3 separate regions of the Homo sapiens genome follow, and all the other regions are linked to region 1. The links are contacts of gene promoters, found by promoter capture Hi-C in human tissues and cell types (Jung and others, 2019). All regions are on one chromosome and are shown on one strand. Each heading gives the region's core, a stretch centred on a gene start or on the middle of the fragment in contact. The rest is flanking DNA. Distances are from core to core; before and after follow the strand shown.

Region 1 (3,473 bases), core at 293-2,792:
AAGCTGTACATCTAAGATATTTGCACGTTGCTGTGTGTAAACCATAATTCCAACAACAACAACGACAAAATGGCAAGGTGGGGCTCGGTGGCTCACGCCTGTAATCCCAACACTTGGGGAGAACTAGGCGGGAGGATCGCTTGAGGCCAGGAGTTAGAGACCAGCCTGGGCAACATAGGGAAACCCGGTATCTACAAAACAACAATAGCAACAATTCGCTGGGGCGGGGGGGGGGGGGGGGGGGCGCCGCCTGTTGTTCCAGCTACTCAGCTACTCCAGAGGCCCAGGCGGCAGGATCGCTTGAGGCCAGGAGTTCTTGGCTACACTGAGCCGAGATCCCGCTACTGCACTCCAGTCTGTCAGATCCTGTATGGAAAAAAAAAAAAAAAGACAAAATAGTTAAACTATGCCTTTAATTCAATAAACTATTAAACTAACAATACCATGAAGAAAATCAGAATAAAGAAGAAAGATAGGCTGACGCAGGAGAATCGCTGGAACGGTGAGGCGGAGGTTGCGTGAACCGAGATCGCGCCACTGCACTCCAGCCTGGCGACAGAGTGAGACTCCAAAAAAGAAAAAAAAAAAAAAAAAAAAAAGAAAGATAGGCTGGGCCCGGTGGCTCAGGCCTGTAATCCCAGCGCTTTGGGAGGCCGAGGCGGATGGATCACCTGAGGTCGGGAGTATTCGGCACCAGCCTGACCAACATGGTGAAACCCCGTCTCTACTAAAAATACAAAATTAGCCGGGTGTGGTGGCGAATGCCTGTAATCCCAGCTACTCAGGAGGCTGAGGCAGGAGAATCGCTTGAACCTGGGAGGCGGAGGTTGCGGTGAGGCGAGATCGCGTCACTGCACTCCAGCCTGGGCAACAAGAGCGAAACTCGGTCTGAAAAAAGAAGAAGAAGGAGAAGGAGAAGAAGACTATCTGGGTTCCATCAACGATTCTCGTGCCTTTTGTCTTTAAACTTTGGTGCTGCCTTCATCAAAATCATACTAATGAAATTCGACGCGCGGGTCATTCATTTAATTAAAATGAAACCCCAAATCTGTTGACTATTGGTATCCTCATGACACTGTTCTATAATGTGACAGAAAAGACGAAGGTGAAGAACTATGGTTTCGGCCGCTGTTACACAGGAGGTAGCAGGTGGCAGGCCGTTTACACAAATTAGCTCGTTTTTGGAGACGAAGTTACCCCAGGCTGCCCGCTCGGATGAGCCTGCGAATTCAGGCCCAACCCAGGCCCCTCCAGGTCGGGAAGGTACGAAGAGCCCGCTGGATTCACACAGGGCAGGGGCGCCTTCGCAGGTGCGAGTGGATTCTGGGTATCGCGAGCGTAGGCCCAGGCGCAGCCCCTCTGCCTGCGGGACTGAACAGGCAGGTGCGTCCCAGCGGCCGGGCGGGCCGGGTCTCCCTCCTGCGGGCAGGCGCCGCGCTGCGGGGCGCGGCTGGCGGAGCGGGGCAGCCGGGCGCAGCGCCCCCTGGGCCTGAAGACTGGCGGGCGGCGGGGGCGCGCGCAGGCCGGCGGGGGCGCGCCGCGCTGCGAGGCCTGCGCGCCAGGCTGCGGGAGCCATGCGGCGATCGAGGAGCTCTGCGGCCGCCAAGCTGCGCGGGCAGAAGCGGTCCGGGGCCTCCGCGGCCCCCGCGGCCTCCGCGGCCGCTGCCTTGGCACCCAGCGCCACCCGCACACGGCGCTCCGCTAGCCAGGCCGGGAGCAAGAGCCAGGCGGTGGAGAAGCCGCCGTCGGAGAAGCCGCGGCTGAGGCGCTCGTCGCCGCGGGCCCAGGAGGAGGGCCCGGGGGAGCCGCCGCCGCCTGAGCTGGCGTTGCTCCCGCCACCGCCGCCGCCGCCGCCGACTCCCGCGACCCCGACGTCCTCGGCGTCCAACCTGGACCTGGGCGAGCAGCGGGAGCGCTGGGAGACGTTCCAGAAGCGGCAGAAGCTTACCTCCGAGGGTGCCGCCAAGCTCCTGCTAGACACCTTGTGAGTGCGGCGGGCCGGGGGGCGCGGGAGCCGTTGCCACGCGGACCCCCTCGGCAGGAGTCGGGCTCGCAGCCCGCGTGCAGGCCTTGGGCGCCTTTCAGCTCTGAGCCTTCCACGTTACGGAGCCGACGCGGCTCCCCCGTTAGCACTGGGGTTATTCCTTAATTCTAAGGGCGGCGGGGCGGGGCGGTGCTTCTAGGGCTGTGTGGCCTGGGAATGGAAAGGGGGCTTCGTCCGGAGCTTGAGGGCGCGCGCAGCCGTCTTGGGACACAAAGAGTCTTTCCCGGCCATAAGCATCGTGCTCGGGGACGTTGTCTCTTGCTGGCGCGCAAAGGGTGTGGGGGCCTTTCTTAGTGAAAAGAACATAAATCCCACGGCTTTCTCTTACCCGAATCCCCTTTTTTTTTGTGTTTGCACACGTGTTTTTGAGGGTGGGTGGAAGGGAAAGGTAGAAGCGTTGAAGGAAGCATGAATAGTTTTGAACTCACTGGGAAGCAAAATCCCGTCATTGTTCCAGGCACTGCCAGGGAGGGAGCAGGGGGCGGAGGTTATTGATCCGGGAGAGAAGCGCGCGCGAAGAGATGCTCCGGCCTCGCGCGGCGGCGGGGATACCTACGTAGGGAGGCTTTTATGTGCTCAGCCAGCTAATGCTCCCTGCCGCTCGCCCTCCTGGCTGCTCCGCAGTCTTTTAGATGGCCCGAGGAGCATCTCGAGTGTCCGCGATTTGGGAAAGAGCTTTTAACTGGGCTGTTAAAGGGCTGCCTTCTTTTCTCCAAATGCGATCTGGATTCCTGCCTCGGGGAACAGTTGTGCTACAGAGAGATATTTTAACGCCCTGATATTATATTTCAGTGTCAATTTTACGAATTAAAAAGAACAATCAAAACACTAGGGGGAAAAAACCGACAAGAATAACCTAGCAATTGCATAACCTGAGAATTACTTCTTTTCTTGAACATGTTCCTTTGAGCTTCTTGCGGAAGAAATTCTCTTAGGATGAGTCGTCCCCGACAGAAGATACATATTTGGTTTTCTGTGTGCTTCACTTTTTGGTTTTTCATCTTGGACTGCACACTGAATTTTTAAAAAACGTTCATCCATCAAACATTTGAGCACCTATAGGGTGACGGCTGCCTCTGGGCAGAAGGAATACGAAGATCCTTAGGAATGTAAAACTCATGGTGTCTTCAAGGCATACAGAAAAAAAGAAGAATGTAAAACTCAAATTTGAGATAAATTTTTATTTTAAGACAAACTGATAAATGGTCAAGAAAAAGTTTTAAAATATTGACATAAAAAAGCTGTTTTTCTCCCACTAGATTGCCATGACTTTGTACTTATAAAGTCTACTAAATTATATTCAAAAAGTGTGTATAACTGTACCATTTTCGTTAAAATATTGTGTAGAAAAAAGTTTGGGGGAATATATAACAAATAATTAACTGTAGATCCCTCTGGGTGTAAAGATTACAGGAGGCTTTCACTTTGA
Region 2 (3,473 bases), core at 309-2,808, 320 kb after region 1:
GTAATTGTTTGGGGGCACCATGAGGAGCACCTGTATAAGATGGCAAACAACCCATAAAGGTGGTGTGTGTCCTGACTCCTCCACTGACTGGTTGTTCCCTGTCTCTCTCCTCCTCTGGCTCCCTTATTCCCTGACACACAACAATATTCAAATTCGGCCAATTAACCCTGCAATGGCTTCTAAGTGTTCAAGTGAAAAGAAGAATCACTAAGTCTGTCACTTGAAATGAAAAGTTAGAAATGATTAAGCTTAGTGAGAAAGGCATGTTGAAAGCCAAGACAGGCTGAAAGCTAGACCTCATGTGCCAAACAGTTAGCCAAATTGTGAATGCAAAGGAAAAGTTTTTGAAGGAAATTGAAAGTGCTATTCCAGTGAACACACAAATGGTAATAAAGCAAAACAGTGTTTCGTGACACACAGAAGATTTTAGTGGTCTGGATAGAAGACCAAACCAGCCACAACATTCCCTTAAGCCAAAACCTAATCCTAATCCAAGCCCTAACTCTTCAATTCTCTGAAGGCTCAGAGAGGCGAGGAAGCCACAGATGAGAAGGCTGAAGCTAGCAGAGGCCATTCAGAGGTTGAAGAAGCCGTCTCTGTAACATAAAAGTGCAAGGTGAGGGAGAAAGTGCTGATGAAGATGTTGCAGCAAGTTACTCAGAAGACCTAGCTAAGATCTTTGATAAAGGTGACTGCATTAAACAACAGATCTTCCATGTAGACAAAACAGCCTTCTACTGGAAGAGTCCAAAACTTCAAAAGACAGGCTGACTCTCTTGTTAGGGGCTAATGCAGGTGGTGACTTTTAAGTTGAAGCCAGTGCTCCTTTACCATTCTGAAAATCCTAGGCCACTTAAGAATTATGCTTGGTCTACTCGCCTGTGCTCTAGAAATGGAACAAAGCCTAGATGACAGCATGTGTTTACAGAATGGCTTGCTGAATATTTTAAGCCCACTGTTCAGACCTACTGCTTAGAAAAAATAATTTTCAATACTGCTCATTAACAATCCACTTAGTCACCCAAGAGCTCTGATGGAAAGGTTCAAGGAGATGAATGTTGTTTTCATGCCTGCTAACACAACATCCATTCTGAAGCCCATGGATCAAGGAATAATTTCTACTTTCAAGTCTTATTATTTAAGAAATACATTTCATAAGGCAATAGCTGCCATAGTGATTCCTCTGACGGATCTGAGCAAAGTAAACTGAAAACCTTCTGAAAAGGATTCACCATTTTAGATGCTATTAACGACATTTGTAATTCATGGGAGGAGGTAAGAATATCAACATTAACAGGAGTTTGGAAAAAGATGATTCCAGCTCCCATGGATAACTTGGGAGGGGATCAAGACGTCAGTGGAGGGAGTCACTGCAGGTGTAGGAGAAATAGCAAGAGAGGCCGGGTATGATGACTCATGCCTGTAATCCCAGCACTTTGGGTGGCTGAGGCAGTAGAATCACTTGAACCCAGGAGTTTGAGACCAACCTGGGCAACATGGTGAGACCCCATCTCTACAAAAATTTTAAAAAGTAGCCGGGTGTGGTGGTGTGTACCTGTGGTCCCAGCTACTTGGGTCTGAGGTGGGAGGATTGCTTGAGCCCAAGAAGTTGAGGCTTTAGTGAGCTGGTAAGCCGTGATTGTGCCACTGCAGTGCAGCCTGGGCAGCAGAGGTGAGACCCTGCCTTAAAAAAAAAAAAAAAAAAAAAAGAACAAGAGAACTAGTAGTGGAGCCTGAAGATGTAACTGAATTGCTGCAATCTCATGATCAAACTTGAAATGGATGAGGAGTTGCTTCTTAGGGATGAGCAAAGAAAGTGGTTTCTTGAGATTGAATCTGCCCCTGAAGATGCTGTGAACATGGCTGAAATGACAACAAAGGATTTAGAATACTACATTACATAAACCCAGTTAATAAAGAAGGGTTTGAGGGATCAACTCCAATTTTGAAAGTTCTACTGTGGCTAAAATGCTATCATTGCATGCTACAAATAAGTCTTTCATGAAAGGAAAAGAAATTGCCACAGCCATCCCAGCCTTTGGCAACCGCCATGCAGATTAGTCAGCAGCCATCAACATGGAGGCAAGACCATCCACCAGCAAAATAATTGTGACTTACTAAACCCTCAGTATCTCTGAGGTATGCCTGTAGTATTTTATTTCATTGAGTACCAGGATCTGGATTCTTCATGTTACCATTCTGCTTTTTTTTCATTTAGCAATATATAATCATTAGCATTTTGGTAATTTTTGAGAACTTAATATATTAATACTTTAACTTGAATTTCACTTTCAGGAGGAGTTTGCAAACCAAAGCTGATCAGCAAGTCAAACAGCAGGAAATCTAAGTCTCCTATACCTGGGCAAGGCTACTTAGGAACGGAACGGCCCTCTTCAGTCTCCTCTGTACATTCAGAAGGGGATTACCATAGGCAGACGCCAGGGTGGGCCTGGGAAGACAGGCCCTCTTCAACAGGTAAGGATTCTGCTTTAACTTAGAAAATGAGACAGAGCAATAATATCAATGTCTTGGTTATTAGTTCTTCAAAATTCAGCAACTCTTCTAATTTGGAAACCTATATTCCCATTTCTGTATCATTAATATGTTCCACTTTCCCGAATAGAAGTATTTTTTTGAGGGGTCTTGTTCTGTCACCCAGGCTGGAATGCAATGGCATGATCATGGCTCACTGCAGCCTCGACCTCTGAGGCTCAGGTGATCCTCTCACCTGAGCGACCCAAGTAGCTGGGACTACAGGCGTGCACGACCATGCCTGGCTAATTTTTTTCATTTTCATTTTAATTTTTATTTTTTGTAGGGACAAGGTCTCACTACGTTGCCCAGGCTGGTCTCGAACTCCTGAACTCATTCCTCCTGCCTTGGCCTCACAAAGTGTTAGTATTACAGGAGTCAACCAATGCACACACCCAGAATAGAAACTGAATGCACATATAACCTGAAACATTTTTAGAATGCAAAGCCTGATTACCATAAACAAAGGAAGAGCTATGAAAAAATAATCTCAACCATTCTCCTCACTTCTGTATTACACTGGTAGCGAACATTGACTATTTGCAAAGCAAATAAGGTGGTTTTAGTTCTTTTGAGAACTGTACCTGAATGTACCCATGCCACTTCTAAGAGTACTTCACCTTTCATATTGGTATTCTTAGAAAAAGTTCTTAGGGAAATACTAAGAAATCAAAATTAGAAATGAGAAGACTAGTTTAAAAAGCCATCATCTAGCTGGGCGCGGTGGCTCATGCCTGTTATCCCAGCATTTTGGGAGGCTGAGGCGGGCAGATCACTTGAGGTCAGAGGTGGGAGAATCACTTGAACCTGGGAGGCGGAAATTGCAGTGAGCTGAGATTGCGCCACTGCACTCCAGCCTGGGCAACAAAAAGAGACTCCATCTTAACAAAAACAAAAAAAGCCATCATCTGTCTGTACGTTCACTACATTTACACAAACTG
Region 3 (3,473 bases), core at 552-3,051, 270 kb after region 1:
TTGCAACATATAAGTGCTTTATTTATGTAATTTATTAATAGTAAATACTATTTACATGTAATGTATGGTAATTTTAGAAGACATATCCTACTCCCTTTAAAATTTTTTTTATATTTAAGCAATCTACGATGAAGATTTTCTTGCTTTACAAAAACTATTCTTGGTTTTGGGTAGAAGGGGTATAATTTTTTTTTTTTTTAAACAGAAATGGGAATGCTGACTTTGTGAAATTGACCTTGTGAAAAAAACAATGTTTGCTTAATCTTTAAATTTTTTTTTGTTTTTTTCTTAGGGAACACCAGGCACTTATTTGACTTCTCATAATCAGGCTTCCTACACTCAAGAAACACCCAAGCCGTCAGTGGGATCTATCTCTCTTGGACTGCCACGGCAACAGGAATCTGCCAAATCAGGTCAGTGAGTTAATACAGTCATAATGCATCTACGTTTGTAGCATCACAGCCAGTAATTTAGTACTGGATTGTTTCATGTTTCTCTGCCTTTCCACAGCTACTTTGCCCTACATCAAGCAGGAAGAATTTTCTCCCCGAAGCCAAAACTCACAACCTGAGGGTCTGTTGGTCAGGGCCCAACATGAAGGTGTAGTCAGAGGTAAAATATGCTGGTTGGCAGAAATGTTAAACTTTTGTCCCCAATAAATTTATTAAAGTAAGTTATTAATATATTTTAATGATGGGCTTTTTTAACTATAGTCTTTAAATTCTAAATTTGTTTTCTTTCCATGTAAAAGTCATTTTAAAACCTTGAAGTTCCATGTTTCAGCAGTTCTTTAGTATTATTTTGGAAGTACATTTTAATAAAACAAACATGATGGGTTTTGTGCTGCTTTTTTCTTTTCTTCTTAGTTGAGTACTCTCCCAAGTAGGGGCTGTTTTTTTATGTTTTGGGGCAGGGGCTGGGGGTGTAATTTGCTAATAGCTTTGTTTGTATTCAGGTACCGCAGGAGCCATACAAGAAGGAAGTATAACTCGGGGAACTCCAACCAGCAAAATTTCAGTGGAGAGCATTCCATCCCTACGGGGCTCTATCACTCAGGTTAGTCACGATCATCTCTGATATACTCAACAGAAGCTCAGGAAAAAATGATAAATAATTCTTAGCACTTTGGCTATTTTGTGGCTTAAGTTCATTTTTCTGCATTATGGGACTGGGTCTCATAACCTAGATCTGCAAACTGTCTCCACAGAGACGTTAATGTGATCATTTTGACTACAAGCTATATTATGAATACTTTGGTTCATTTGAAAAGGTCACTTATTTGCAAACTGGAAAAAGAAATATGTTCTAATTGATGCAGCTCTTATTGTCTTCCTGGAAAAGCTTTTACCATGTGTTTAGCCTAAATAGAAATTGAGAAGAAAATCATTACGAATTATTTGCTTACTTTTGCCCTGGTGGAGATGTAGTTGTAGAATCTCAGTATGTGGGCTGCCTTGTTAGAATCTAATGCTAAACCAGGAAATGTGGATGGTATTAACAAAAGCACCAGAAGCCTTCCAATTTTGGGCTAAATACATCACCAATTTTGATTAATAAAATTTCTCTCAGTTAGTTGTTAATTTTAACTTGATACTTAAGAAGTTCTTAGCCTCTTTATGTATATGCATAAGAGGGAAAATTCTGTTTTGGGAAATCATTGTAAACAGAAACCTGTGCCTTGCATTTTCTAAAGTGTTCACTCATTGTCACAAGTTTTTTATTTGTCTAGTTACTATCCTCTAAGACAGTTGTTCTCAAAGTATGATCCCCACACCAGGAGCATCAGAATCACCTAGAAAATTGCTACACATATAAATTTTCAGATCTTACCCCAGATTTACTGAAACCCAACCCTTGTTGGTGGGGACTGGCAGTCTGTGTTTTCCCAAGCCCTTAGCTGATTCAGCTAGGGCTTTGCTGGCCAAGTGTGGTTTGTGCACCAGAGCATTGGCATCACTGGGATGCTTGCTAGAATAATGCAGAAATGTCAGTCCGCACTCTAGATCATGTGAATTAAAATCCCCATTTTACTGAGGTTCCCAGGTGATTTCTTTCTGAAATGTAGTTTACATACTACTTCCTTGTGGTTAAGTTAAAAACAGAAGAAAAGAAAGTTACATACTGACTCTTAAAATCTCTCTTTTTAGGCCAGGCGCGGTGGCTCACGCCTGTAATCCCAGCACTTTGGGAGGCCAAGGAGAGCGGATCACGAGGTCAGGAGTTTGAGACCAGCCTGACCAACATGGTGAAACCCCGTCTCTACTAAAAATACAAAAATTAGGCGGGCATAGTGGTGTGCGCCTGTAATCCCAGCTACTCAGGAGGCTGAGGCAAGAGAATCACTTGAACCTGGGAGGCGGAGGTTGCAGTGAGCTGAGATTGTGCCACTGCACTCCAGCCTGGGTGGCAGAGTGAGACTCCGTCTCAAAAAAAAAAAAAGTCTCCATTTATATTGGGTCAGTGTGTTTCTGTTTTAACAGCAAGCTAATACTTTAATATGGACAGAGGAAAGTAAATGGGCCTGTATGTATTATTCTTTCTCTTCACTCTGGCATCCAAACTGTGGGAAGAAAGAGTATGAACTGGGCCAAAGGAGACTAAATTTTATCTGTTTAAAATCTGTTTGTGCACTTGACATGAGTACTTCTGAAGTGGGCGTTAAGGATTTCTAGACACTTACTAATGAGTTCACTTAATGACTGGACAAGTAAGTGTATGTCTCTTATCGCTTTTCTTAAGCATATGGTATCAGATTGTGCTCTCTAGGGTTTTAGCAGTCCTCAGAGTATAGTGGTGACCCTAAATGTGAGTAAACTCAGTCTAGGCCTCTAACTCCTATTTTACACCAAGCTGCTCTCTCTTGCAAAATGCTCTACGTATTAGATTCTATGAACAATTTTCCTTGAAGGAAGGGCTCGCTGCTTAAAGGAAGGGTAAAAAGAATCATGGTCATTGGCAACTCCAGAGGAGGATTGATGATGGTGAAAATATAGATAACCTGACCTAAACTGAATCAGTGTCAAAACACAGAGGCATCCAAAGGCCTAACAACCTAGTAGTCAGTTTGATATTTGAAAGTTATTTTTCCCTCATATCACAATTTGAGAAAAAGTTGTAGTACTCTAAATTTAAAACTACTTTATCATCTTATTTTTATTAGAAAATTTATATTAGGTTGGTGCAAAGATGTGATTTCGGACTGTGAATTTTAAATCATTATAACTAGGCTCAAACGCATCTTTATCAAAATAGGAACCATTACAATCAACACATTTTTGCCAGTGAGAAATAATCTTGTTCATTCCTGTAGCATAAAAATACATGCTTCGAGATTCAACAAACTCTTAGAAAGCATTTTCTTTCTCTTTTCTTTTCTCTTTTCTTTTCCCTTCCTCCCTTCCTCCCTTCCTTTTCTTTTCCCTCCCTTCTCCCCTCCCCCTCCCCTCCCCCCTCTCCTCCCCTCCCCTATCCTC

The links. Contacts are between HindIII fragments. The study calls those that stand out against the background at their distance.
Region 2: a fragment that was not itself captured here is called in contact with the fragment with the promoter of CENPV in region 1 in 2 of the 25 tissues and cell types used here (adrenal gland and hippocampus).
Region 3: a fragment that was not itself captured here is called in contact with the fragment with the promoter of CENPV in region 1 in 1 of the 25 tissues and cell types used here (aorta).

The regions. Positions count from the first base shown.
Region 1 is chr17:16,351,538-16,355,010 of GRCh38, reverse strand. CENPV (centromere protein V) reads left to right here and starts at 1,542. Exons shown (of 5, transcript NM_181716.3): 1 at 1,542-1,984. The coding sequence starts at 1,575. RefSeq lists silencers at 1,333-1,482, 1,543-2,152. The HindIII fragment of the contact is 38,840 bases long and covers 1-2,849 here.
Region 2 is chr17:16,033,767-16,037,239 of GRCh38, reverse strand. It overlaps NCOR1 (nuclear receptor corepressor 1), which reads left to right. Exons shown (of 46, transcript NM_006311.4): 45 at 2,296-2,475. It also overlaps a transcript of TTC19 not described here. Among named protein-coding and RNA genes, the nearest start is that of TTC19, 36 kb to the right of the region's middle. The HindIII fragment of the contact is 6,456 bases long and covers 1-3,473 here.
Region 3 is chr17:16,077,547-16,081,019 of GRCh38, reverse strand. NCOR1 (nuclear receptor corepressor 1) reads left to right here. Exons shown (of 46, transcript NM_006311.4): 24 at 293-413; 25 at 511-612; 26 at 956-1,056. Among named protein-coding and RNA genes, the nearest start is that of SNORD163, 74 kb to the left of the region's middle. The HindIII fragment of the contact is 6,091 bases long and covers 1-3,473 here.